Regions from separate parts of the Homo sapiens genome. Here all the other regions are linked to region 3. The links are contacts of gene promoters, found by promoter capture Hi-C in human tissues and cell types (Jung and others, 2019). All regions are on one chromosome and are shown on one strand. Each heading gives the region's core, a stretch centred on a gene start or on the middle of the fragment in contact. The rest is flanking DNA. Distances are from core to core; before and after follow the strand shown. Region 1 holds the start of ASH1L (ASH1 like histone lysine methyltransferase). Region 2 has its middle 18 kb from the start of ASH1L. Region 3 holds the start of THBS3 (thrombospondin 3). Region 4 has its middle 13 kb from the start of MSTO1.

Region 1 (3,276 bases), core at 334-2,833, 350 kb before region 3:
AGTAGCTGGGATTACAGGCGTCCACCACCACGCCTGGCTAATTTTTGTATTTTTAGTAGAGACGGGATTTTGCCATGTTGGCCAGGCTGGTCTCGAACTCCTGACCTCAGGTCATCCGCCCACCTTGGCCTCCCAAAGCGCTGGGATTACAAGCGTTAGCCACCGCGCCCGGCCTTGCATGGGCTTTTGAACAGTCATTTCTGAATTACTTCCTGGATCCCCAGGAGTCCACAAATGTGAAGGAAAGGGAAACCCAAGTAGATCCTTCCGGTAATTTATTCTGCTTTACCCTTTAGGTAAAGGTAAAAACTACTAGATCAAGTAAACTTTGGAATTATTTGTGGACTTTAATCGTCCGTATTTCTGCTGCATTCAATTATCAAATATCAGTCAAGTGTTTTGAGAAACAAATATTCAGTAGCCACAGAAACCTAACAGGCCTATGTTTGCTTTGTTTTATTAACTCCTTGGAGGGACAGAACACTACCAATTACACCCACAAACGTTATCGACATCAACAGAACTGTAAATGACAACACGGCAATATTCTGCACTTTCCCTATGCCTAGGAGCTAATTCCACTTTACATATATTATCTTATTATTTCACACATTAACCCTGGAGGCATGTTTGGAGTTGCCTAATTTTTATGTACACTTTTTGATAAGGAACTAACAAAAATAACTTGCTGAAGGAAGAAAAGGGAGACTAAGTCCAGAACTGAATGAAAAGCACATGGTTTCTTCATCCTCCATCACCAGGCTGTCTAACGAGGCTGAAGAAGTACCATCCATGAGTAAGTGCGTCAAGGGCAAACAAACATCATCGCATATGGACAGTGGTGTGAAATTCGAGAAATCCGAGGAGGGTTAACAACAACAAAAAGCACACCACCACGCCGATCTTCCTCGGGTCCCAGGTTGGCAACTCAACGCCCGGGAGGAATCCCCCCGGAGGCGCGCCGGTCCTACTGGCCTCACTCCCTACCTCCTGGAGGTCCGGAGTCCCGCTCCTTTCCCTCAGCGGTACAATACCCGTGTCGGTCCATTCCCTCACCGTGAGTCGAGGACTAGTTCTCCTGACTAGGCGACCGGCACACACCGCCTGCGACCAGCTCCACAGCAGCGGTCCTGCTACTGCGAAGTAGGCTCAGGTCAACCGGCAGGAAACGACTCAACGCGCAGCCGCCGCGGCCTCCAACCACCGGTGGGCAGAGGGGCGCTAGGCAGTCCTCGATCCGCTCGCCGCGATCCGGCGGAGGAGGAGGAGCAGAGGGAGGCGAGCCGCAGCGCTGCGGCGAGGAGCCCAGGGAGGTAGGTTGTCGTGGGGCTCGGTCCGCCATTCTGGCAATTCCAGTCAAACGGCAAGCCCCGACCCGCTCGGCCCGTCCCTTCCTCTCCTGCCCCTGCAGCCGACAGGAATGGAACAGTCCCGCGGGGGGGATTGTGGGAGGCGCACGCGCGAGGGGTGGAGGGTGGTAGGGGGGGCTGGCGGCGGCGGCGGCGGCCGTGGCGGCGGTTGGTGGCCGTGGGGGCGGGGAAGGGGGGGGAGGAGAGAAGAGGAGGTGGAGGAGGAGGAGGAGGAGGCTTGGGCTTGCGCCGTTGAAGGTACGCGTGAGGGCCTGCGCCGGCGCCGGCTTGACAGGGCCTGAGGGGTAGTGAGGGACTGGACGAGGGGGTTCCTGTGGGTGAGCGCGTACGGGCTGGCTGGCGCGCGGGGCGGCCGAAGGTGGTGGTTGGTGGGAGCAGCCAGCGACGAGCCCGTAGACACTCGTACGCGTGCGGGCGGGCGTGCGCGCTACGCGGACGGAGTCGGGCGGAGCGGGGGACGGTGGGAAAGAACGCAAGGAGGAAGGAGTGGAAGGTTGAGGGGGGCGCTAGGCGCCCTTCGCTCCCTCCCTCTGGAGGAGCTGCCGCCGCCACCGCCGCCACTCTGCTGCTGCCGCCGCCGCCGCCGCCGCTCCCGCCGCCATTTTGGGTTCGCTTTGCGGAGGGGAGACGATCCCAGTCTCGGTTGCGGGACCCGCCTCCCCTCAGTTTGCCCCCTTTAGCCTTCCACCTTTCCCTTCTCCTCTCTCGCATTTCCGCCAGTCAGCTTACCCGCTGGCCGCCTCCTGACAAGCGGGAGGGATCCGCCGTGGACCCAGGGAAGCGGAGGAGCCTGGCGGCCACCCCCTCTTCCCCACTTCCCTGCACTCTCATCGCTCTCGGCCTCGGCCTCGGCCTCCGACACGGTGAGTAGAACGATTTGGGCCGGCATTCGGGCCTAAGCACTCTCTCAGCGATTGAATCCTGGGCTTTCTGGGAGCCACTGTCATCTCCCGGACCTGGATCTCTGAGAGAGCAGTGGTGAAGATGGGGGAGGGGAGAGCAGGGAGGGGGATCCTGAGCCTACCGGGAAGTCCCTCCAGGCGGGGTGAAGGGGTGTCCCTGACAGGCAGACTCCCGGAGGGGGCTGGGAAGTAAGCGAGTGGAGGCGGAGTCGGCTGTGCCCCTGACAGGTTAGTTTGTGTTTGTAGGCATGATCGGAGCCTCCCCCATAGTCCAGTTTGTGTGTGTTTAATTAAGGGATAAGAGTGGTCGAGGACACGATCTTGAGAGGGGATTTTACCTGTGTGACAAGGTCTGTGGTGTCCCTGCCGCGTTGAACGGTATGTGGGAACGACAGGATGATCTCAGTGTTGTAAGTTTAATAAATGTCACTGGTTAGTTTGTACATGGAAAGAGATGTTTTTGGTCTAGCAGACAGATGGTCTGTTGGTGTGTAGCGGCTGTGTTGGTGTGTGTATGTGAGGATGGCAAGTGTTTCCGTAAGAGTTTGCCTTTATTTGTGTAAGTGTAATGGAGTTCCCCTTATAAGTTAGCTTATTTCTTGAATAAATGTTGGGAGGTTCCTTGCAGGTTGATATGTGTGTGTATTTTAGGGATTGGGAGCCCCTAGTTACTTGTTGGGAAAGAGCGGCAATGGTAGTGTTCTGTACAGCATGTGTCTGTGAGGTCAGGGAGGGGAGAAACTTGGCATAGCCAGTTGTGGTCTTAAGAATAGTTTGTGCCTTTGGTTAGAGTGAGTTGTGTAAATGTGAAGGGCCAAAATATCTTTAACAGAATCATTACTACAAAGTTGTAAAGAATGGGTGGCCTTATTTGTTGTCGCGGGTTTATAGTAATAGTTTACAATACAATAAGAAAGCTCTTTCAGTTTTTTTGTGATACTGAATCTCTGTGAAAATGGTAGGATGCTTTCTTCCATTTTACAAAATAGGAAATTTAGGCATAA
Region 2 (3,475 bases), core at 816-3,315, 370 kb before region 3:
AGAGAATTGCTTGAACCCGGGAGGCAGAGGCTGCAGTGAGCCGAGATCGTGCCACTGCACTCCAGCCTGGCGACAGAATGAGACTCTGTCTCAAAAAACAAACAAACAAAAAATCTATAAGCAGAGAAATCCTATCAACAAGCCAAATCAACACAAAAGAGAGGAATGTTTGCTTATTCTATTTTCCAGGGTATATACAAATCAGGACTCTGCAAGATAAGGCTGAATGCCACTAATACTATGAAAAATTGCGTACTGATTTCTGTTTTCAGTCTTTTCATGTCATTTGAACACTTCTCTGCAGAACACAAGTTAAACATTTTGCTTGTAACTGGACGGTAGGTAAGGGACAGGTTTCCTATGAGAAATGACTGATGGTTGGCCGGGCGTGGTGGCTCACGCCTGTAATCCCAGCACTTTGGGAGGCCGAGGCGGGCGATCATGAGATCAGGAGATCGAGACCACCTTGGCTAACATGGTGAAACTCTGTCTCTACTAAAAATACAAAAAATGATTGAACTCAGGAGGTGGAGGTTGCGGTGAGCCGAGATCATGCCATTGCACTCCAGCCTGGGCAACAAGAGCGAAATTCCGACTCAAAAAAAAAAAAAAAGCCAGACATGGTGGTGCACACCTGTAGTCCCAGCTACTCGGAAGGCTGAGGCAGGAGAATCGCTTGCACCGGGGATGCGGAGGTTGTAGTGAGCCAAGATCGCGCCACTGCACTCCAGCCTGGGTGACAGAGCAAGACTACATCTCAAAAAAAAAAAAATTATGGTAAAAATTAAAGATGAATGATAATTATCTCCAGCCTAATAGGAAGCCAAAACAAACAAAATTCTCAAAAATGTCATTAATATACTTCTCCATGCCGGGCGCAGTGGCTCACGCCTGTAATCCCAGTACTTTGGGAGGCTGAGGCAGGAAGATCACTTGAGGTCAGGAGTACTGGTCAACATGGCGAAACCCCATCTCTACTAAAAATACAAAAATTAGATGGGCGAGGTGGGACATGCCTATAATCCCAGCTACTTGGGAGATTGAGGCATGAGAACTGCTTGAACCCTCCCAGGTTCAAGAGGAGGTTGAAGTGGGCTGAGATCACACCACCGCACTCCAGCCTGGTCGACAGAGTGAGACTCTGTCTCAAAATAATAATAATAATAAAATATAAAGTAAAATAAAATACTTCTCCAATATTTTTCAACTGCCATCATTCTGAGCTTTTCCCCATTATCTGCCTCAAGTATTCCAAGACAAAAGAGTTCTGCTTCCAACCACAGTCTTTATTTAAAATGTAGATAATGGCTGGATGAGGTGACTCACACCTATAATGCCCACACTTTGGGAGGCCGAGGTATAAGGATCACTTGAGCCCAGGAGTTCAAGACCAGCCTGGCAAGATAGCAAGACTGCGTCTCTTAAAAACAATTAAAAAACAAAATAAAATGTAGATAAACAAATCCCAAATAGTTGCCTTAGTCTTTTGAAGCTTTTCCAAATGCATGTAAAAAGACATTTTTTTGTATTTGTAATAATCTGTAAGAAACCACAGATTCTTACACACTATTGTGTGTAAAACTCTGCCGCTACTCTGATGAAACTGTTTAGGTAGTGTTAGAGTATTAGAGTTCTCTCTCCCTTTTTTTTTTTTTTTTTTTTTGAGACAGAGTCTCACTCTGTTACCCAAGTGGAGTGCAGTGGCACAATCTTGGCTCACTGCAACCTCTGCCTCCTGGGCTCAAGCAATTCTCCTGCCTCAGCCTCCCGAGTACAGATGCATGCCACCACACTTGGCTAATTTTTTGGTGTTTAGTAGAGATGGGGTTTCACCATGTTGCCCAGGGTGGTTTTGAACTCCTCAGCTCAGGCAATCCGCCCACCTCGGCCTCCCAAAGTGCTGGGATTACAGGCGTGAGCCACCGCACCTGGCCAAATTATCTTTCTTTAAACAAACAACAAAAAGAGTATTCTTGCCTAGACAGGCCAAATGTAACTTCAGAAGGAAGTCAGAAACAGCCTGTGCCAAATTTAGAAAGGTATCCCAAAGACTATGTGCTAAAACTTCAGTGCAGTGGCGTGATCACGGCTCACTGCAACCTCGAACTCTCAGGCCGAAATGATCCTTTCACCTCAGCCTCCCAAGTAACTGGGACCACAGGTGCACACCACCACGCCTGGCTAATTTATTTTTATTATTTTTGTAGAGACAGGGCAGGGTCTTACTATGTTGCCCAGTCTGGTCTCAAACTCCTGGGCACAAGGGATCGTCCTGCCTCCATCTCCCAACATGCTGGGATTACGGGTGTGAGCCACCACACTCGGCCCTTTTTTTTTTTTTTCTTAGAGTCAGGGTCTCATTATGTTACCAAGGCTGGTTTCAAACCGCTGGCCATGCAACCTCTCCCTTCAGCCTCACGAGTAGTTGGGATTACATGTGCGAGCCACTATACCCAGAGAGAATAACAGATTCTTTTTTTTTTTTTTTTCTTTTTGAGATGGACTCTTGCTCTGTTGCCCAGGCTGGAGGGCAGTGGCCCGATCTCGGCTCACTGCAACCTCTGCCTCCCGGGTTCAAGAAATTCTCTTGCCTCAGCCTCCCAAGTAGCTGGGATTACAGACACACCACCACGCCTGGCTAATTTTTGTATTTTTAGTAGAGACGAGGTTTCACCATTTTGGCCAGTCTGGTCTCAAACTCCTCAACCTCAAGTGATCTGCCTGCCTCGGCCTCCCAAAGTGCTGGGATTACAGGCGAGAACCACAGATGCTTAAGATTATGTCGACCTAGTCTAAGGATTGAACTCGTTCAGAACTAAATCAGTGCTACATTGATCTTAATATTAATCACTGAATATTTTTCTGAAATAGGCTCTATAATAAGCAAATTAAAGGCATTATCTTACAACAGTCCCATCAGGTACACGTTATTATGCTCAGCTGAAAATAAGTATGGATAGATTAACTCCAAGGGTATATATCCTAAAATCAGGCAGTTTTAGAATTGAAATCTATGTTTGACTCTCAAGCCTTTCCCATTAGCCACTATATATGCTACACTGTCAATCAGCAAATGCCTAATGATTTCCAGTGATGGGGAACTCAATAGGAAGTCATTATGGTTTTTACACAGCTTTTAATAAAAGTTCTTCAGTAGTTCGAGGCAACATGTCTCCTTGTAGCTTCCATTCACTGTCCTAGTCTTCCTCTTGGGTTTTTTGTTTGTTTGTTTGTTTGTTTGTTTGTTTGCTTGTTTTGAGATGGAGTTTCACTCTTGTTGCCCAGGCCAGAGTGCAATGGCTTGATCTCGGCTCACCACAACCTCTGCCTCCCGGGTTCAAGCGATTCTCCCGCCTCGGCCTCCCGAGTAGCTAGGATTGCCTGCATGCGCCACCATGTCCATGTCCAGCTAATTTTGTATTTTCAGTAGAGACGGGGTTTCTCCATGTTGGTCAGGCTGGTCTTGAACTCCCAA
Region 3 (3,500 bases), core at 870-3,369:
CTTTGGCAGTATCTGTGGTCTGTTCCTACTTTAACTTATATGTGAATATTTTATTATATTTATTTGCTTACCTATCTGCCTTTCTGTAAACTCGAAGGGAGGAACCAAATTTTATTCATCTTTGCCTGGCAATGTTTAATATTTGGAAGAAATCTAATAGATCCTCTTTAAAGCAAGGAGTCAATGAATAAATGAAGCAAAGGAAGTCTGATTGCTAAGCTCTTTATACAAAGCCTGGCTGTGAGTCGTTTGGTCTAACAAACAATAGCCTCAGTAAATGCTGTTAAGTGAGGAGGAAGAGGAGAAGGGGGCTGAGGAGAAGGCAGGAATTCCAAGCTAGAGTAGGTCCCTGAGACAGTCCAGCCTAGTAAACCTCCGAATGGAGAAAAAAAATGCCCAAAGAGAAAGGATCTCCGCAAGGTCACACAGCCAGTGAATGGATGAGCAAGGACTAGAACCCATCACCTGAACTCCCAACCAGGCGTCTTTTCATTGCTGCATTAAGCCTAGAAAACTACAGCATAGGGCACTGAGGCCATATCGGCCACGTACGCTCTTTGACTGCCTCAGTTTCCCCCACTGCGCCCGTGCTGAGTAGCCCTGGCAAGGTTTGGATGCTTGGCTAGTTCGGCCCCCTCCCCAGTCATCAGGGCACAGCAGAGGGCGCCGGCGCCACCCCTCACCAGCACGGCCAGGCTGTCCAGGTCCACTGACGGCAGCCCCCAGCCCCCTGACCAGCAGAACAGCTCCATGGGCGCCGCCATCTTGCCCACCCTCTGTCCCGGAAACACTTCCTTGTGTGCTTCTGCCCTCCCCTGCCTGGGCCCGCCCCCCGCCACCGCCCCTCCGATCGTTGCGGTCAGGGGGCCTGGGGAGATCCCCGGGGAGGCGAGGCTTCTTCTGGCCCGACTGGCAGCTGAACTGCGGGGGACTGGGCCGCGGGCCTCGGGGGAGGGCGGCCGCCGGCCCATCCAGAGGTGGCCCACGTAGCGGGACAGCGCTGTCGGCCCGGCGCGCCTCGGAGAGTCACGGCGCCTCGTCCAAGTGGAGCCCCGAACCCCTGAAGGCGCGGCAGGCTCTGGAGAGCGGGGTCTTGTGCGCCTGGGCCAGGTCTGGGGGCTCTTGCCAAACTGCACGTGGCCTGTACTGCTCCAGGGCCCCTTGGGGCTCGTCCCCGAGCGGGGACTGCGGGGGGGTCCCCCGAGCAGCATGTTTTCCACAGCGCGTTATGTTTGGAGCGGGCCCTGCGCCGCCTGTCGCCATGGAAACAAAACAGGGGCGGTGGCGGCGGCCGGAGCGGAGGCCGGGCTGGGGCTTGGGTGGGGGAGGGGAAGAGAGGCTCGCAGGCTGTCGCTTAGGTGACGGGAACTCAGGCGCCCCTCTGCTTCATCCGGGTCACGGCCCGTCCGCTAGTACCCACAGTGTTCCACAGTCTGGTCCTTGGCTCCTCGCCTGTACCCCTGGTCTTCTGCGCCTGTCCCTGGTGTCCCTTTCCTCTTTTTTGGTTTCTTCACTCTGACCTCACTGACCACTGCTTTAGATTCTCCCTTCAGTTCCCGTCAGACGCTTCCAGACTCCCAAGCTTTCCTACGAATGAGGGAAAATGGAGAAACAGGCACTTGTCAGGGGACCCCCCACCCTAATAAAGAGCACTTGCTCCGCCAGAACAGCAAAATTCATGCCATGTGGGCATCCCTGGGCACTATAGCAAGCTAGTTGCGGCCACTCCCTTGGCATCCTTTCCTGCCAGCTGTGGAATAATGCCCACTGTCTAGCACTGCCCCTGCCAGGGGTTCTTGCCTTCCACAATCGTGGCTTCCAGAAAACAGTGGCATTCGGTAGCGCTGTGTGCCGAGACCCCCAACAATGATGACTGCGGAGAGGGAGGCACCTGGGGGAGGATCATTAGGGAGAGGTAGAAAGCAGGGAGGCCTCCAGGATTCTTTCCCAGTGCCCCTGGTTCCCAGAGCTGATGATGCCTCCAGGGTGATTGGCAGCTCTTTGTTTCAGCCCCCCCTCACCCGCCTGCTGGCCCCCCCTCCAATTCTGTCCCTCCGCCCCCCGGCTCCTGCTCTCTCCGCCTAGCCTTTTCCCCTCCCAGCTGCCTGCCTGCCAGGGGTAGTGAGCCGGCTGAGAGGCATGGAGACGCAGGAACTTCGGGGGGCCCTGGCTCTTCTCCTCCTTTGCTTTTTCACATCTGCCAGTCAGGATCTGCAGGGTAAGCCTGTCTCCATCCTCTTAGACCGCTCTCTGCTTCTTCCCCATTTGCCCTCAGCCCAAGTAGCAGAGAACATGTGGGCAAGGGGAGAGGGGAAGAGTCCAGAAATTGAGCCAGAGGAAAACTTAAGACTGCCTAGAGTTGGTGAAATTATGGCCTGGTGGAGAGGAGTGGGCACCGGAGAGTAGTGGGGGAGCTGGAACAGGACAGGGTCAGGCATGAGGCCAGGGCAGAGGACTCAGGAACTGGATGCTCAGGCTGCCTGGCTGGGGTGGTTCCTGAGCATCTGTAGGCACCCTAGGGTCTGGGAGAGCAGCCTGAAGGTGGGCGTACTGTAGGTCCCTGGGCTTCGTCCCCCTGGGCTCCTGGCTGCCCAAGGACAGGGCGGGGGTGGGGACCAAGAAGCCTGGGCTCTCCCGGAGGTCTGGTGGTGGGATGGGCCGATGGATGTGGGAGAGGTAGCTGGAGCAGATGACACAGGCATAGATTCTTTACTGGCTGGAGGGAAAACCACAGATTGGCCAGGACACAGGAGGCAGAGGAGCTGGGTCCTACATTCCCGTGGGAGATAGCCCAGATGGTGGGAGGGTTAGAGTCCTCAGTGGGCAGCTGTTCTTATCCAGAGCGAGTGTGCTGCGCCCCTAGGATGGGAGGAGGGGAACTAGGGTGTGGAACGAGCCAAACCCAGGAGTGGAAAGAGAAGCTGCCTTCCATTTCTACGTTGTGGACACCAGGTGCCACTCCTGTGGGGGATCAGCACAGCATCTCCTTTGCGCCACCTGGTGGGGGCATCTCAAATTTGTGGGGTGCTGTTTCTGTGTTTCCAAGTGAGTCTCAAACCTGCAGGTTCCTGGAAGGTAGTAATAGGCAATAATGGGGAAAGGAAGGCACAGTGCCTCTGTCCTCTGAGAGCAACAAGGGTTGAGGTTTTTTTTTGTTTTCGTTTTGTCTTTTTGAGATGGAGTTTCACTCTTGTTGCCCAGGCTGGAGTGCAATGGCGCGATCTCGGCTCACTGCAACCTCCACCTCTCAGGTTCAAGCGAGTCTCCTGCCTCAGCCTCCTGAGTAGCTGGGATTACAGGTGCCCGCCACCACGCCCGGCTAGGTGGTTTTTTTTTCTTTTTTGTTGTTGTTTTTGTATTTTTAGTAGACACGGGGTTTCACCGTGTTGGCCAGGCTGGTCTCGAACTCCTGACCTTAGGCGATCCACCTGCCTCAACCTCCCAAGGTGTTGGGATTACAGGTGCGAGCCACCATGCCCAGCCAAGGGTTGAATTTTGAG
Region 4 (3,427 bases), core at 378-2,877, 420 kb before region 3:
TCCTTTACTAGGGAGAGACATATTAGCTAAAGCAGGGGCCATTATATACTTGAATATAGGAGAAGGAATACCTGTTTGCTGCCCTACTCAAGGAGGGAGTTAATCCTGAAGTCTGGGCAGAGGAAGAGCAAGAGCAGTATGGACAAGCAAAAAATGCTTGTCCAGTTCAAGTTAAATTAAAGGATCCTACTTTCTTTCCTTATCAAAGCAGTACCCCCTCTGACCAGAAGCCCAACAAGGGTTACAAAAGATTGTCAAAGACCTACAAGCACAGAGATTAGTAAAGCCATGCAACAGTCCAGGCAACAGTCCTATTCTAGGCATACAAAAACCCAACAGACAGTGGAGGTTAGTGAAAGACCTCTGAATTATCATTGAGGCAGTTGTTCCCCTGTATCCAGTGCCAGGACCAGCTTGGTCAGGGAGACCCTAACCCAGCAGCACTAGAGGAATTAAAGACACACATACAGAATATAGAGGTGTGAAGTGGGAAATCAGGGGTCTCACAGCCTTCAGAGCTGAGAGCCCTGAACAGAGATTTACCCACGTATTTATTAACAGCAAGCCAGTCATCAGCATTGTTTCTACAGATATTAAATTAACTAAAAGTATCCCTTATGGGAAATGAAGGGATGTGCCAAATTAAAGGAATAGGTTGGGCTAGTTAACTGCAGCAGGAGCATGTCCTTAAGGCACAGATCACTCATGCTATTGTTTGTGGCTTAAGAATGCCTTTAAGTGGTTTTCTGCCCTGGGTGGGCCAGGTATTCCTTGCCCTCATTCCGGTAAACCCACAACCTTCCAGCATGGGCTTTATTGCCATCATGAACATGTCACAGTGCTGCAGATATTTTGTTTATGGCCAGTTTTGGGGCCAGTTTATGACCAGATTTGGAGGGGCTTGTTCCCAACAATCCAGTTGTACCTAATCCTTATACTCTACTCTCCCAGATACCAGAGGAAGCAGAATGGTTTACAGTCCTAGATCTTATGGACGCTTTCTTCTGCATCCCTCTGCATCCTAACTCGCAATTTTTATTTGCCTTTAAAGATCTGTCAAACCCAGCATCTCAGCATACCTCGACTATCCTGCCATTCATTTTCAGGGCTAGGATACTAGGAGGTCTAGGAACTGGCATTGGAGGCATTACCACCTCCACCCAATTCTCTTACTGTTGGGGAAAAGCTGAGTGTTGGGAAAAAAGCTGAGTGTTGGGGAAAAAGCTGAGGCAGGGCTTGCATGTCTGATATAATGTAAAAGAGTCTTAGAACAGGTCCAGGGTCCAGGGTCCAGGGTCTAAAACCCCTTGTGGCCTTTGGAACACCAAGCTCTGTGCCAAAGGGTGAAAGGCTGCCCTGCTGCACCACACTCTAAGCCAAGGGCATAAAACCCCTCATGGCTTGAATGGAATCCAGGGCTCAGGGCATAAAACCCCTTGTGGCCTCTGGAATGTGTCTAGATTTGCTGGCTCCTTGTTTCTAGCCCTCCCAGGCTCATAGATCGATTGTGTCTTAAACTAGAAGAACATGTTCCCCATTATCTCAAGTAGCAGAACATGTTCCATATGCTTCAAAGAAAATGCTAAACTGTCACAGCTGTAGATCACACACTTGATACACTGCTTTCTTTGAACCCCCACATCCTCACCACCTGCTTCTTTGTTTGATCACCAATAAATAGTGCAGGCTTCAAGAGCTCAGGGCCTTCACAGCCTCCATACTAGCATTGACCCCCTGGTCCCACTTCTTGCACTCTTAACTTATCTCATTCCTTTGACTCCGCCGGACTTCGTAGCCCCCACAGCCTGGTGTTGGGTCTGATCACCCCAACATATTACAAATTATCACAAGAGTTAAATGATGACATGGAACGAGTTGCAGATTCACTGGTCACCTTACAAAGCTAGCTTAACTCTTTAGCAGCAGTAGCCCTCCAGAATTGGAAAGCCTTAAATTTATTAACAGCTGAAAGAAGTGGAACCTGTCTTTTTCTAGGAGAAGAGTGTTACTATTTTGTTAATCAATACAGAATTGTCACCAAAAAAGGTTAAGGAGCTTCGAGACCAGATACAGTGCCAGGCACAAGAGCTCCAAGACACAGGACTTTGGAGTATTGTCAACCAATGGATGCCCTGGTTTCTCCCCTTCTTGGGACCCTTGGTGGCTATTGTGATGTTGCTTATCTCTGGACCCTGCATTTTTAACCTCCTTGTAAAATTTGTCTCTTCCAGAATAGAATCCATGAAACTGCAAATGATTCTACAGATGGAGCCCCAAATGACCACCACTAGCACCTGCTATCGAGGACCCCTAGACTGACCCACCAATCTGTTCTTGCACCATGACACTGAAGACTCCCCTCCTGAGGAAGGCTCAACTGCAGAGCCCCTTCTACACCCCAGCTCAGCAGGAAGTAGCTAGAATGATTGTTGCCCAACTTCCCAACGGCACTTGGGCTTTCCTTTTGAGAGGAGGGACTGAGGGACTAAGTGGCTAAGTTGGCTGGACTTCCTGGGTCAATAGGGACTTCCCTAAGGGAACTTTCCCCTAAGCCAAAATGAGTTATAGCTGCAAACTAAGGGATTGAACCTTCAACCAATCATATAGGGAGTTTAAGCTCTAGCTGCAGCCTGATGTTTTTAACCAATCATGCCCACCTACCCACAAGTGGATAGAAAATAAGCTAATTCTATAGGACAGAAAAAGAAAAAGGGGAGGGGTCATAAGGGGATATAAGTATAAGACACCCAAGCCAAAAATGGCAGCCCTTTCAGGTCCCCTTCCACCATGTGGAAACTTTACTTTCACTTTAATAAATCTTGCCACTGCCAAAAAAAAAAAAAAAAAAAAAGATTAAATAGAATTGTCTATAGGATTTCATTAAAATTGGGGTTAACATTAATAGCAGACTTATGCAAGGGTAAAATTTGGCTTTCTCTCTTGAACAGGATTTTTATGTAATAGTAAAGGCTAATCAAAGCATTTTGCTTTTTCAAATTTTTGAGTCATCCTTTTGGCAAAACAAATGACTTATGGTAATCTAAAATTCTATTTCATAATATCAAGAGTTTTAAACCTGTAAGGGCCAGTCATGGTGGCTCACGCCTATAATCCCAGCACTTTGGGAGGCCGAGGCAGGTGGATCACCTGAGGTCGTGAGTTGGAGACCAGCCTGACCAACATGGGGAAACCCTGTCTCTACTAAAAATACAAAATTAGCTGGGCGTGGTGGCGCATGCCTGTAATCCCAGCTACTCAAGAGGCTGAGGCAGGAGAATAGATTGAGCCTGGAAGGCAGAGGGTGCAGTGAGCCGAGATTGTGCCACAGCACTTCAGCCTGGGCAACAAGAGCAAAACTCTGTCTCAAAAACAAACAAAAACAAAAACCTGTAACATATTCAACAGGCTTCCCAAAATCAAATTTCAG

The links. The method cuts DNA at HindIII sites, captures the fragments that hold promoters and counts their contacts. A contact is called where the count stands out against the background at its distance.
Region 1: a contact is called between the fragment with the promoter of ASH1L here and the fragment with the promoter of THBS3 in region 3, in 3 of the 25 tissues and cell types used here (IMR-90 fibroblasts, heart left ventricle and lymphoblastoid cells).
Region 2: a contact is called between a fragment that was not itself captured here and the fragment with the promoter of THBS3 in region 3, in 1 of the 25 tissues and cell types used here (liver).
Region 4: a contact is called between a fragment that was not itself captured here and the fragment with the promoter of THBS3 in region 3, in 1 of the 25 tissues and cell types used here (liver).

The regions. Positions count from the first base shown.
Region 1 is chr1:155,561,110-155,564,385 of GRCh38, reverse strand. ASH1L (ASH1 like histone lysine methyltransferase) reads left to right here and starts at 1,583. Exons shown (of 28, transcript NM_018489.3): 1 at 1,583-2,233. It overlaps ASH1L-AS1 (ASH1L antisense RNA 1), which reads right to left and starts at 2,344. Exons shown (of 2, transcript NR_147964.1): 1 at 2,100-2,344; 2 at 442-1,136. It also overlaps a transcript of MSTO1 not described here. RefSeq lists silencers at 74-368, 1,453-1,592, 1,643-1,792 and an enhancer at 997-1,564. The HindIII fragment of the contact is 36,648 bases long and covers 1-3,276 here.
Region 2 is chr1:155,579,096-155,582,570 of GRCh38, reverse strand. It overlaps a transcript of MSTO1 not described here. Among named protein-coding and RNA genes, the nearest start is that of ASH1L, 18 kb to the right of the region's middle. The HindIII fragment of the contact is 8,727 bases long and covers 1-3,475 here.
Region 3 is chr1:155,206,516-155,210,015 of GRCh38, reverse strand. THBS3 (thrombospondin 3) reads left to right here and starts at 2,119. Exons shown (of 23, transcript NM_007112.5): 1 at 2,119-2,218. The coding sequence starts at 2,140. MTX1 (metaxin 1) reads right to left here and starts at 1,321. Exons shown (of 8, transcript NM_002455.5): 1 at 684-1,321. The coding sequence starts at 1,211. RefSeq lists a silencer at 772-971 and an enhancer at 2,335-3,118. The HindIII fragment of the contact is 12,638 bases long and covers 767-3,500 here.
Region 4 is chr1:155,621,441-155,624,867 of GRCh38, reverse strand. It overlaps the pseudogene LOC100419798. Among named protein-coding and RNA genes, the nearest start is that of MSTO1, 13 kb to the right of the region's middle. The HindIII fragment of the contact is 8,414 bases long and covers 1-3,427 here.